4 separate regions of the Homo sapiens genome follow, and all the other regions are linked to region 4. The links are contacts of gene promoters, found by promoter capture Hi-C in human tissues and cell types (Jung and others, 2019). All regions are on one chromosome and are shown on one strand. The core of a region is centred on a gene start or on the middle of the fragment in contact, and the rest is flanking DNA. Distances in the headings are between cores, read along the strand shown.

What was found. Contacts are between HindIII fragments. The study calls those that stand out against the background at their distance.
Region 1: the fragment with the promoter of DMXL2 here is called in contact with the fragment with the promoter of ONECUT1 in region 4 in 1 of the 25 tissues and cell types used here (heart right ventricle).
Region 2: a contact is called between a fragment that was not itself captured here and the fragment with the promoter of ONECUT1 in region 4, in 1 of the 25 tissues and cell types used here (dorsolateral prefrontal cortex).
Region 3: a contact is called between a fragment that was not itself captured here and the fragment with the promoter of ONECUT1 in region 4, in 1 of the 25 tissues and cell types used here (dorsolateral prefrontal cortex).

The regions. Positions count from the first base shown.
Region 1 is chr15:51,621,458-51,624,157 of GRCh38, forward strand. DMXL2 (Dmx like 2) reads right to left here and starts at 1,314. Exons shown (of 44, transcript NM_001378457.1): 1 at 1,002-1,314. The coding sequence starts at 1,088. RefSeq lists an enhancer at 452-861 and a silencer at 1,232-1,451. The HindIII fragment of the contact is 6,819 bases long and covers 1-2,700 here.
Region 2 is chr15:53,891,214-53,893,913 of GRCh38, forward strand. It overlaps a transcript of UNC13C not described here. Among named protein-coding and RNA genes, the nearest start is that of UNC13C, 86 kb to the right of the region's middle. The HindIII fragment of the contact is 3,102 bases long and covers 1-2,700 here.
Region 3 is chr15:53,800,427-53,803,126 of GRCh38, forward strand. No RefSeq gene overlaps it. Among named protein-coding and RNA genes, the nearest start is that of WDR72, 42 kb to the left of the region's middle. The HindIII fragment of the contact is 9,303 bases long and covers 1-2,700 here.
Region 4 is chr15:52,788,962-52,791,661 of GRCh38, forward strand. It overlaps ONECUT1 (one cut homeobox 1), which reads right to left and starts at 1,375. Exons shown (of 2, transcript NM_004498.4): 1 at 1-1,375. The coding sequence starts at 923. LOC105370824 (a long non-coding RNA gene) reads left to right here and starts at 1,469. Exons shown (of 2, transcript XR_001751550.2): 1 at 1,469-2,700. RefSeq lists enhancers at 1,371-1,665, 1,662-2,430, 2,431-2,700 and a silencer at 1,413-1,482. The HindIII fragment of the contact is 12,558 bases long and covers 1-2,700 here.

The DNA of each region.
Region 1 (2,700 bases), core at 64-2,563, 1.2 Mb before region 4:
AAAATATATTTAATAAAGGTCTGGCTGCCTACAGTTCCTTATAAGGAAGACCATGTATAAATTTCATTCTTTAAAAAAGAACTCAATTTATGGGAGTCTATCTATGAGTAAACGAAGCTCCAAGGCTTGGTTTAAACATTTCCACTCTCAAAAAGGACTGATGAGTCCAATCTCCTTGAGAAACATGTCTACTTCATCTAGCTTTTAAGGAGATTCTAAAACGTTATGTATACATACACTTTTCTCAAACAAGCACTGTTGTAAATTTTTCACATTGCCTTACTATATTAAAAAAAAGGCTACCTTACAGATTAAAATATTATCTAGGAGGATTACCAAACTACGACCTCCTGATAAATGAGACAGCTCTCCAAGCCACTGTGACTCTAACCTTTCCATTCTAAATCTTTCGGGCGCGGAGGATGAATTTTTCTATCTTTTTGTTGGAATTAAGATCCTGCATTATCAGGAGATACAGAGTCAGGCTTAAAGCCACAGACTCCAGCAGCTCCTCGCTGCCCTAGCACAGCGGGCAGGGGGAGCCAAGGCGCAGCATCGCCTCCACGCTCCGAGACCAACACCAAGTCTCTTCACCTCCACGCTCCGAGACCAACACCAAGTCTCTTCGCCTCCACGCCGAGAGCAGCTGCGAAACGGACGCTCTGGGGTTTCAGCCGCACCACCACTTTCCTCCACCGCAGACCGAAGGGCCGCCCTAGGAGGAGCCTTCTAGTCCAGTCACCTCAGGCCCGTTTGCTTGGGGTGGAGAGTGCGGTGGATTCCTAAGCCTTTCCCCTAACGGGTGATTTCCTACACCAGACGCAGGACCCACGGTCCCACGGGTCCCAGGGGGAACTAAACCCCAAGGCTGCAAAGGGGCCACGGGTGGGGCCCACCAACATCTCACAGCCTCCTGAGGAGGCGTGCGCCCTGGACAGGAGGTCCCTGCCCCCGCGTCTGGCCCCTGGTATCTTCCCCTAGGGCTCCCGGCCGCCGCTCACCGTGAAGGGGACATCCCCGACGCTGCCCACGGAGTAGCAGTTGTCTCCAGGGTTGACAGCTCCGGTGAGGACCTGATGCAGATGCATCTCCGGAGCCCGGGCTGGACAGAATGCGCGGGAGGTGCGACAAGCTCCGCGCCTGACCCTCCTCGGGCTGCGAGAGCCGTTTCCCTCTGTGCCTCCCTCGGAAACCCGCCCCGCGGAGGCTCTGGCTTAACTCCTCGCCCCCCTTTCGCCTTCCCTCCGCCTCGTCCCTGCCATGGGAGCTCCTCGACCGCCGCCGCCGCCCGGGTCGCCGCTCAGCTGCGGAAATGCCCGGATGTTCCCACTGCCTGCTGCACCGGCGCACAAATGCGGGAGGGCAAGGGTGCTTGTGAGGCGGGGGAGGGCACCGGGGGGAACGCGCGAGCCGGGAGCGTGCAGCAAGGGAGCGGGCCAGCGCGCGCGCCCACCGCGGGGGAGCGAGGTAGAGCCCTCCCCCCGCGGCAAAGCTCTCAGCTCAGTCTTTCTTCCCCCCATCACCCGCGTTTGCGCGTGCGCGCGCCGTGGTTTCCAGGGCAATTGCGCGCGCCACGCCGACCCGCCGTCCCGTGATTGCGCGCGCAGACGTGCGGGAGTTCCCTTGGAGCCTCCCGGGCTGTAGCCGCTGCGGACTGGGGCGGAGGTGGGGGCGGGGGCGAGTGGGGTGCAGGTCGCTCGGGGCCACGCAGCAGTCGGACGCCGGGGACGCGCCACGAGCCGGTTTTGCTGTGTTGAACGTATTCCAGAATACAGTGTGCAATGGTCAGTGCCGTTGACCTCAGAAGGACACCCGTCACCGGGAATTTCCACCTGGAGATATCTTAGATATCTTCAGTCTTTTCGAAAGTGCAGTACATAAGATATTTTATTTTACATAAACAATGTAGGCATCTTGCAACTATTTAGAGAAGCCATACTCCCCTGAAAGCTAATTATTTTGCTCCCACCTTTTGTCACGGTTATTCTAGACAGCAAAAAGCCGCCTTAGAGACGGGTGACTCCTTTCGACTTTTTTTCATGAGTAATTTCATGAATTAGCAGAATCGCCTGATTTTCCAAACTATCTGCTAAACTTTGAATGGTTGATAACAAGGATCATCAGCTCCCTGCCACAGGCCAATTCATGGCAAATGTTCTAACCCATACTATGCTTAAATCACAGGGTAAGGAAGTAGGGGACACCAAGACATAACTATCTGTAAAACCAGGCAGAACGCCAAAGGTGGTGTGATTGAGATATAAAAGTCTTTATGCACCACAGAAGAGGAAGAAGAATGTTGACTAAGGGCGTGGATAAGGCATTATGGAGACATAACCTGACATAAACGCTGAGTTTAATTTTGACAGGCTGAGATAGACAAGAAATGCTGCAAATACAGTACAGAAAATAGAGGGGGTGTTGAAGGTACAAAGATTAATGTTTGAGGCAGATGATTTATAGGGTAGGGAAAGTAAATAATACTTAGCAAGAGATCAAGGTATCCAAGTGGTCTAACTCTTGGCCTACCAAAACATATTATGGAGAGTCTTGAATGCTCCAAGAAGCCCAGATTTCACTCTGCATGCAGTGGGGGTATATCAGATGTTTCTGAGCAAAAATTTATATAATCAGAGCTGCTTTGGGAAGATGACTTTGTAGCATTTTGAAGCATAAAGGGAAGGGTGGGGAAGATTGGAG
Region 2 (2,700 bases), core at 119-2,618, 1.1 Mb after region 4:
TGTGTTCTGAGAGACTGTTTGTTATGATTTCCATTGTTTTGCATTTGCTGAGAAGTGTTTTACTTCCCATTATGTGGTCAATTTTAGAACAAGTGCGATGAGGTGCTGAGAAGAATGTCTATTCTGTTGATTTGGGGTGGAGAGTTCTGTGCATATCTATTAGGTCCACTTGTTCCCGAGCTGAGTTCAGGTCCTGGATATCCTTGTTAATTTTCTGTCTCGTTGATTTGTCTAATATTGACAGTGGGATGTTAAAGTCTCCCACTATCATTGTGTGGGAGTCTAAGTCTGTAGGTCTCTAAGAACTTGCTTTATGAATGTGGGTGCTCCTGTATTGGGTACATATATATTTAAGATAGTTAGCTCTTCTTTTTGAATTGATCCCTTTACCATTATATAATGTCCTTTTTTGTCTCTTTTGATCTTTGTTGCTTTAAAGTCTGTTTTTATCTGAGATTAGGATTGCAACTCCTGCTCTTTTTTGCTTTCCATTTGCTTGCTGAATATTCCTCTGTCCCTTTATTTTGAGCCTATGTGTGTCAATGCATGTGAGATGGGTCTCCTGAATACAGCACACCGATGGGTCTTGACTGTTTATCCAATTTGCCAGTCTGTGTCTTTTAATTGGGGCATTTAGCCCATTAACATTTAAAGTTAATATTGTTATATGTGAATTTGATCCTGTCATTATGATGCTGGCTGGTTATTTTGTCCATTAGTTGATGCAGTTTCTTCGTAGTGTTGATGTTCTTTACAATTTGGTATGTTTTTGCAGTGGCTGGTACCGGTTGTTCCTTTCCAAGTTTAGTGTTTCCTTCAGGAGCTCTTGTAAGGCAAGAGCCTTACACCACCACCAGGTGGTGACAAAATCTCTCAGCATTTGCTTGTCTGTAAAGGATTTTATTTCTCCTTCACTTATAAAGCTTAGTTTGGCTGGATATGAAATTCTGGGTTGAAAATTCTTTTCTTAAAGAATGTTGAGTATTGGCCCCCGCTCTCCTCTGGCTTGTAGGGTTTCTGCAGAGAGATCTGCTGTTAGTCTAATGGGCTTCCCTTTGTGGGTAACCCAACCTTTTTCTCTGCTGCCCTGAACATTTTTTTCTTCATTTCAACCTTGGTGAATCTGATGATTGTGTGTCTTGAGGTTGCTCTTCTCGAGGAGTATCTTTGTGGTGTTCTCTGTATTTCCTGAATTTGAATGTTGGCCTGTCTTGCTAGGTTGGGGAAGTTCTCCTGGATAATATCCTGAAGAGTGTTTTCCAGCTTGGTTCCATTTTCCCTGTCACTTTCAGGTACACCAATCAAATGTACATTTAGTCTTTTCACATAGTCCCATGTTTCTTGGAGGCTTTATTTATTCCTTTTTATTTTTTCTCTAATCTTGTCTTCTCACTTTATTTCATTAAGTTGATCTTCAGTCTCTGATATCCTTTCTTCCGCTTGATTGATTCAGCTATAGATACTTCTGTATGCTTCATGAAGTTCTCGTGCTGTGTTTTTCAGCTCCATCAGGTCATTTATGTTCTCTAAACTGGTTATTCTAGTTAGAAATTCATCTAACCTTTTTTCAAAGTTCTTAGCTTCCTGGCATTGGATTAGAACATACTCCTTTAGCTCAGAGGAGTTTGTTATTACCCACCTTTTGAAGCTTACTTTTGTCAATTCATCAAACTCATTCTCCATCAAGTTTTGTCCCCTTGCTGGTGAGGATTTGTGATCCTTTGGAGGAGAAGTGGTGTTCTGGTTTTTGGAGTTTTCCGCCTTTTTGAGCTGTTTCCCCCCATCTTTGTGGATTTATCTACCTTTGGTCTTTGATGTTGGTGACCTTCAGATGGGGTCTTTGAGTAGACTTGCTATTCATTTCTGTTTGTTAGTTTTCCTTCTAACAGTCAGGCTCCTCTGCTGAAGATCTGCTGGAGTTTTCTGAGGTCCACTCCAGACCCTGTTTGCCTGGATATCACCAGCGAAGTCTGCAGAACAGCAAAGATTACTGCCTGTTCTTTTCTCTGGAAGCTTTGTCCCAGAGGGGCACCTGCTAGATGCCTGCCAGAGCTCTCCTGTATGAGGTGTCTGTCAGCCCCTACTGGGAGTTATCTCCCAGTCAGGATACACGGGGGTCAGGGACCCACTTGAGGAGGCATTCTGACCCTTAACAGAGCTTGAATGCTGTGCTGGGAGGTTTGCTGCTCTCTTCAGAGCTGTGAGGCAGGAATGTTTAAATCTGCTGAAGCTGCACCCATAGCCACCCCTTCCCCCAGGTGCTCTGTTCCAGGGAGATGGGGGTTTTATCTATAAGTCCCTGACTGGGGCTGCTGCCTTTTTTTCAGAGATGCCCTGCCCAGAGAGCAGAAATGTGGCAGTCTGGCCACAGCAGCCTTGCTGAGCTGCAGTGGGCTCCGCCCAGTTTGAACTTCCTGGCAGCTTTGTTTACACTCTGAGGGTAAAACTGCCTACACAAGCCTCAGCAATAGTGGATGTCCCTCCCCCCACCAAGCTCAAGCATCCCAGGTCCATCTCAGACTGCTGCTGTGCTGGCAGCAAGAATTTCAAGCCAGTGGATCTTAGTTTGCTGGGCTCCATGGCATGGGGCCCACAGAGCCAGACCACTTGGGTCCCTGGCTTCAGCACCCCTTTCAAGGGGAGTGAACGGTTCCGTCTCGCTGACATTCGAGGTACCACTGGGGTTTGGAAAAAAAACTT
Region 3 (2,700 bases), core at 79-2,578, 1.0 Mb after region 4:
AATGCAGAAGAAGCATTTGGCAAAATACAATACCGATTCATGATAAAAACTCTATTCAAACTAGAATTGGGCGAGCTTTCTCAACCTTATAAAGAACATCTAAAACAACCTACAGCCAACGTGATACTTACTAGTGAAAAACTAAATAATTTTCTCCTAAAATTAGGAGCAACAAGGTGACTATGGCTTTTCTCACCACTTCTATTCAGCCTTGTGCTAGAACTCATAGATAGTGTAATAAGAAAATAAAATGAAATAAAAGTGATACACATTAGGAAAAAAAGGAATAAAACCATTTTGATTCACAGATGACATGATTCTGTATCTAAACAATTGCAATTAGTTGACCAATAAAACACACCACAAACCCCCAAAACCACCCAAAAACCAACCCCTGAAACTAATAGGGGATGATAGCAAGGGATACAAGGCTAATACACAAAAGCATATTATGAAAAGGTGGTCAACATCACTAATCATCAGGGAAATGCAAATAAAATCTGCAACGAGAGATATAACCACACCAGTTAGAATGGCTATCATCAAGAAGACAAGAGACAAATGTTGGCAAGGATGTGGAGAAAAGGGAATCCTTGTACACTGTTGGTGGGAATGTAAATTGGTACATCCATTATGGAAAACAGTATGGAGGTTCCTCAAAAAATAAATTAAAACCAGAACTACCATATGACCCAGCAATCCCACTCATGGGCATGTATCCAAAGGAAATGAAATTAGTATCTCTAAGAGAATCTGCTCTCTCATGTTCATTGCAGCATTATTCACAGTAGCCAAGACATGGGAACAACCTAAACGTCAGTTGATAGATGAATAGGGAAAGAAATTGTGTTATATACAGAAAATGGAATATCATTCAGCCTTAAAAAAGAAGGAAATACCACAATTTGTGACAACATAGATGAATCCTGAGAGAATTATGCAAAGCAAAACAAGTCAGACAAACACAAATACTGTATTACCTTACTTACATGTAGAATTTTAAAAAGTTGAACCCATAGAAACAGATAATAGAATGGTGATTGCCAGGAGCTGGGGCTAGAGGAAATGGGGAAATGTTGGTGAAAGGGCACAAATTTTCAGTTATAAGATGAATACATTCTGGGGATCTAATGTACAGCATGGTGACTATAGTTAATGATACTGTATTGTACACTTTAAATTGTTAATAGAGATCTTAAATTGTTCATACCACACACGTACACACAAAAGGTAACTAGGTGAAGTGATTGATGTGTTAACTAACCTAATAGTGATAATCGTTTCACAATGTACACATATCAAATTATCACATTATACACCTTAAATTTATACAATTTCATTTGTCAATTATGCCTCAATGAAGCTGGAAAACTTTTTTAAAAACACAAAAGTATGTGGATAAACAAATAGTGGTATAGCCATACAATAGTGTGTGTGTGTTTATATATATATATGAAAGGATGAAGAAGAGGCAACGGGATCAGGGAGGCAGGGATGGAAGTGAGGCAGCCACAAGTCAAGCGAGGATTGCTGGCATTGGCCAGAAACTAGAAGAGGCAAGGAATAACTTCTCACCTCCAGAGAGAACACAAGTTGGCCAACATTTGGTTTTTGTCTCAGTAAAACTGATTTTGGACATATATATATATATATATATATATGTTGTTGTTTTTTTTTTTACTCTTGTTGCCCAGGCTAGAGTGCAATGGCGCAATCTCAGCTCACTGCAACCTCTATCTCCCGGGTTCAAGCGATTCTCCTGCCTCAGCCTCCCGAGTAGCTGAGATTACAGGTATGTGCCACTAGACCTGGCTAATTTTGAATTTTTAGTTAGGACACACATCTATTTTTTTGCTCTGTTTCTCCATGTTGGTCTGGCTGGTCTCGAACTCCTGACCTCAGATGATACACCTACTTCAGCCTCCTAAAGGGATGGGATTACAGGCGTGAGCCACTGCGCCCGGCCTTACAATAGGATATTATTCAATTATAAGAGGAAATGAGCGATTATGCCATGAAAAGATATGGAAGAAACTTAAATGCACATTTTTAAGTGCAGAAAGCCAAATTGAAAATGTTTGCAAATATATATGACATTCTGGAATAGCTAAAACTACAGAGATAAGAAAAATATCAGTGATTGCTAAGGATTTTGGTGTGTGTGGGGGTTGTTGTTGGGGGGATGAATAGGTGAAGTATGTGGGATTTTTAGGGTGGTAATACAATCCTGTATGATACTGTGACGGTGGATACTTGACATTATGCATTTGTCAAAACTCGTAGAACTTGACAATAAAAGGAGTAAATGTTAATGTATGCAAATTAAAAAATCTATCAGGGTGTTTTGGAGTCACAGGAAAAAATGCATATTGTGAGAAGATAATCTAGCTGTATCACAAATGTATGAAACAAGCACACTGAGGGATTTGGGGAAAATTGCTGACCTAAGTAACTTTGGAAATAAGTGGAGTCTGTGAGACTAAAGGCAAAAGGAACTGTACATAAGCACTATGTGCAGTTGATACGTTTGTTTCCCCTAAGGATATGGAGTAATGATTCTCATACTGCCATACATTATACTAGAACTGAACAATGAATGGTGGATGGTGGGAGCCAGGTTTCTCAGCATTGTTTTGGGAATATACAGATAAGCAAGGGGAGAAGGCTAGAATGATCCATATGGTAATGGATTACATTAGT
Region 4 (2,700 bases), core at 125-2,624:
TAGCGCTTGAGCTCGGTGGTGATACGCTGCGCCACCTCTTTGGTATTGATCTCTTCCATCTGCCCTGAATTACTTCCATTGCTGACCTGCGCGCCGGTCACCGAAGGGTTGGGCTCCCGGGCTGTGCCCAGGAGTTGCCCGTGGCCCTGGGCGTTCAGGTGGGCGTGGGGATGGTGCGGAGGAAGGCCGTTGATGGGCACCATGCCGGCCGAGGTGGGCGTGAGGTGCTGCTCCCCGTGGCGGCCGAGCATGGCCGGGTGGTGGGCTTCGAAGCCGTTGGGGGTGAGCATCTTGTCGGTGGGCATGGCGGCCCCCGGGTGGGCATAGTGGGGGAGCCCTTGCTGGGAGTTGTGGATGCTGCCCAGACCGGAGCTGGAGAGGGGCGAGAGGCTCTGGCCCATGCCGGCCACGTCCTTGTGGTAGGGGGTATAGAGGTTATTCATGGAGGCCAGCCCGCGCTCATCCCGCATGAGCGTGAAGCTACCGCTCACGTTGCCCGCCAGGCGCTGGTGGTGGTGCGGGTGGTGGTGGTGATGGTGGTGGTGGTGATGGTGGGGGAACTTGTCCGAGACTGTGGAGATGGGAGGCAGCGGCTGCAGAGGGGTCAAGGTGGTGTAGGTGGTGGGCATGCTCATACCTGGGGGAGTCTCGCAGGCCATGGTCATGGTGGGATGCAGGGGGCCGGCCAGGCTGTGCTCAGGGGCCCGGTGGTGGTGGTGGTAATCTCCGCCGCCGCTGCCGCCGTCCAGCAGGGACGCCATGCCCATGGAGCGCGGGTGCGCGGGGGGCAGGTGGCTGCCGCGGTGCGCCACGGAGCTGCGCGCGTGGGGGCTGCCGCCCAGCAGGTCGGCAGGGGCGGGCACCGGCTCATGGCTCACCCCGTGCAGCTCGCCGATCGCTTCCATGGTCAGCTGCGCGTTCATCGTGATCCGGGCGAGCAGGCGGCGGACACAACATCGATGTGGCCAGGCAGAGGCGGCGAGGGGCGCACGGAGTCCGGTCTTCACATCGGCTGCTGGCGACTGTTGCCTTCCTTCCTCTCACTGTGGGGCTCTGTCTCTCTCTCTCTCTCTCTCCGTGTGTGTGTGTCCGTGTGTGCGTGTGCGTGTGTGTGTGTGTGTGTGTCTCGCCTTCCCTCTTACCCCCCACCTTCCCCTCTGCGTCCTCGGCTTTTTTTTTTTTAATATTAATTTCCAAAGAGGATCCGCGCCGTTGGGAGAGCGCAGTGCCCCAGCCCGCCCGCCTCGGCCACCTCTCGCCCCTCTCTTTCTTAAAATTCTGAGGTCTCCGGCTCCCCTGCCGCGGCCCGCGCGCCTGCCGCGTCTGCTGCCTGCCCGCCCCGCTGGCCAGCTTGAGCCATGGCTCTGTTACTGTTACAGACTCTGTGGCCGCGGTTCGGTAGCCGCCGCCGCCGCCGCCGCAGCGGCCCGCCCTCACGCCCGCCAGGCGCAGCGCGCATGCGCGAGGCCCGCCCCCGCCCCCTAGGTCGCGGCGCGCCAGGCCCTTGGCGTCCCGGTACAAATGAAGGAGGGGGCCCAGCGCCTTCCCTGCGGCGCTGGATGGCCAGGGAGCTGCGGGCACGTGCGAAAGATTGGCGCAGAGCGCGACCTGGGGCCGCCGCTGCAATCCCAGGAGACTCGCGCCTGGCTCGCTCGCCTCCCTTGCTTGAGTGGGCTCTGTCCTCCCAGCCCGGGGACGCTCGTGTCGGGCTTCTAGCGGCTGGAGTGCTGTGCTTGGAGACATCGCCCCTCTCTCTCCAGTTGCTGCTTCCCGGTGCAGCTTGCCCGGGGAGCTGGGGACTGTGTCATCACCCCTTCGGCTCTAGCCCACTAAGCTTTATTTCCCGGGGGGCTGCTGGGAGTGCGCTTTCCCACCCTTGAATTCACGGCCTATTGGGGGATGGGGGTTGGGGTGGGGTGGGGTGCAGATTGCTTAAAGGGCTGGGTCCGTTTGGCGGCCGTTGACCCGGCACCCTTCGTCCTCCCAGATACATACTTGCCCACCCTTTCTCATCCATGCCCTGGGGAGAGGAGTAATCAGTGCCAAGAATCCCAGTTCGGGCCATACCTCACTGTCCCCCGCCGCCTGGCTCCTTCTCCCGCTCAGCTCATAATTAAGGCTGTGCGTCCGCTTCGCCGATGACTCGGCCTGTGGAGGGGGGCGAGGGAGAGCGGAGGGAGTGCCCTGGAGGGTACCCATGTTAACTTCCGGGTGCTGGTGGGGCCGTGGAGGCTCGGGCCGTCCCTGCGGTTACTCCCAAGGCCCTCCTGCTAAAGCACCCGGAGGCGGTTGCTTTCCAGAAGTACTGACGCAGACAGGGTGGACGCCGGCGCGCGGGTCTCCGCTTGGCCCCTAGGGACGCCCTTTTCCCGGCGTCCCCGAGAGACGCCTCCAGATTTGAAAATCAATTCAGCTTCGGGAGTAATTTCGCCCTTCCCACAGTCACGCTCCAATCTGGAATCGAACCTGGTCTTTGGGCCTGGTGGGGACGTGTGCGGAGGCCCCCAGTTTGAGACGTACACCCGGCCGCCACATGCCGCGGCTTTCTTTCATTTACAAAAGAAAGAAAAAAAATCCGCAACAAAAGGCAGAGCCGTGTCCGCTTAGGTGCTTTCATCCCTCAGAGAAAGGACAGATGTGCCCATTGTCCAGCCCGTGGCAGTTATGGCCGGGTCAGCGCCGAGCCTCAGCCCCAGGCAA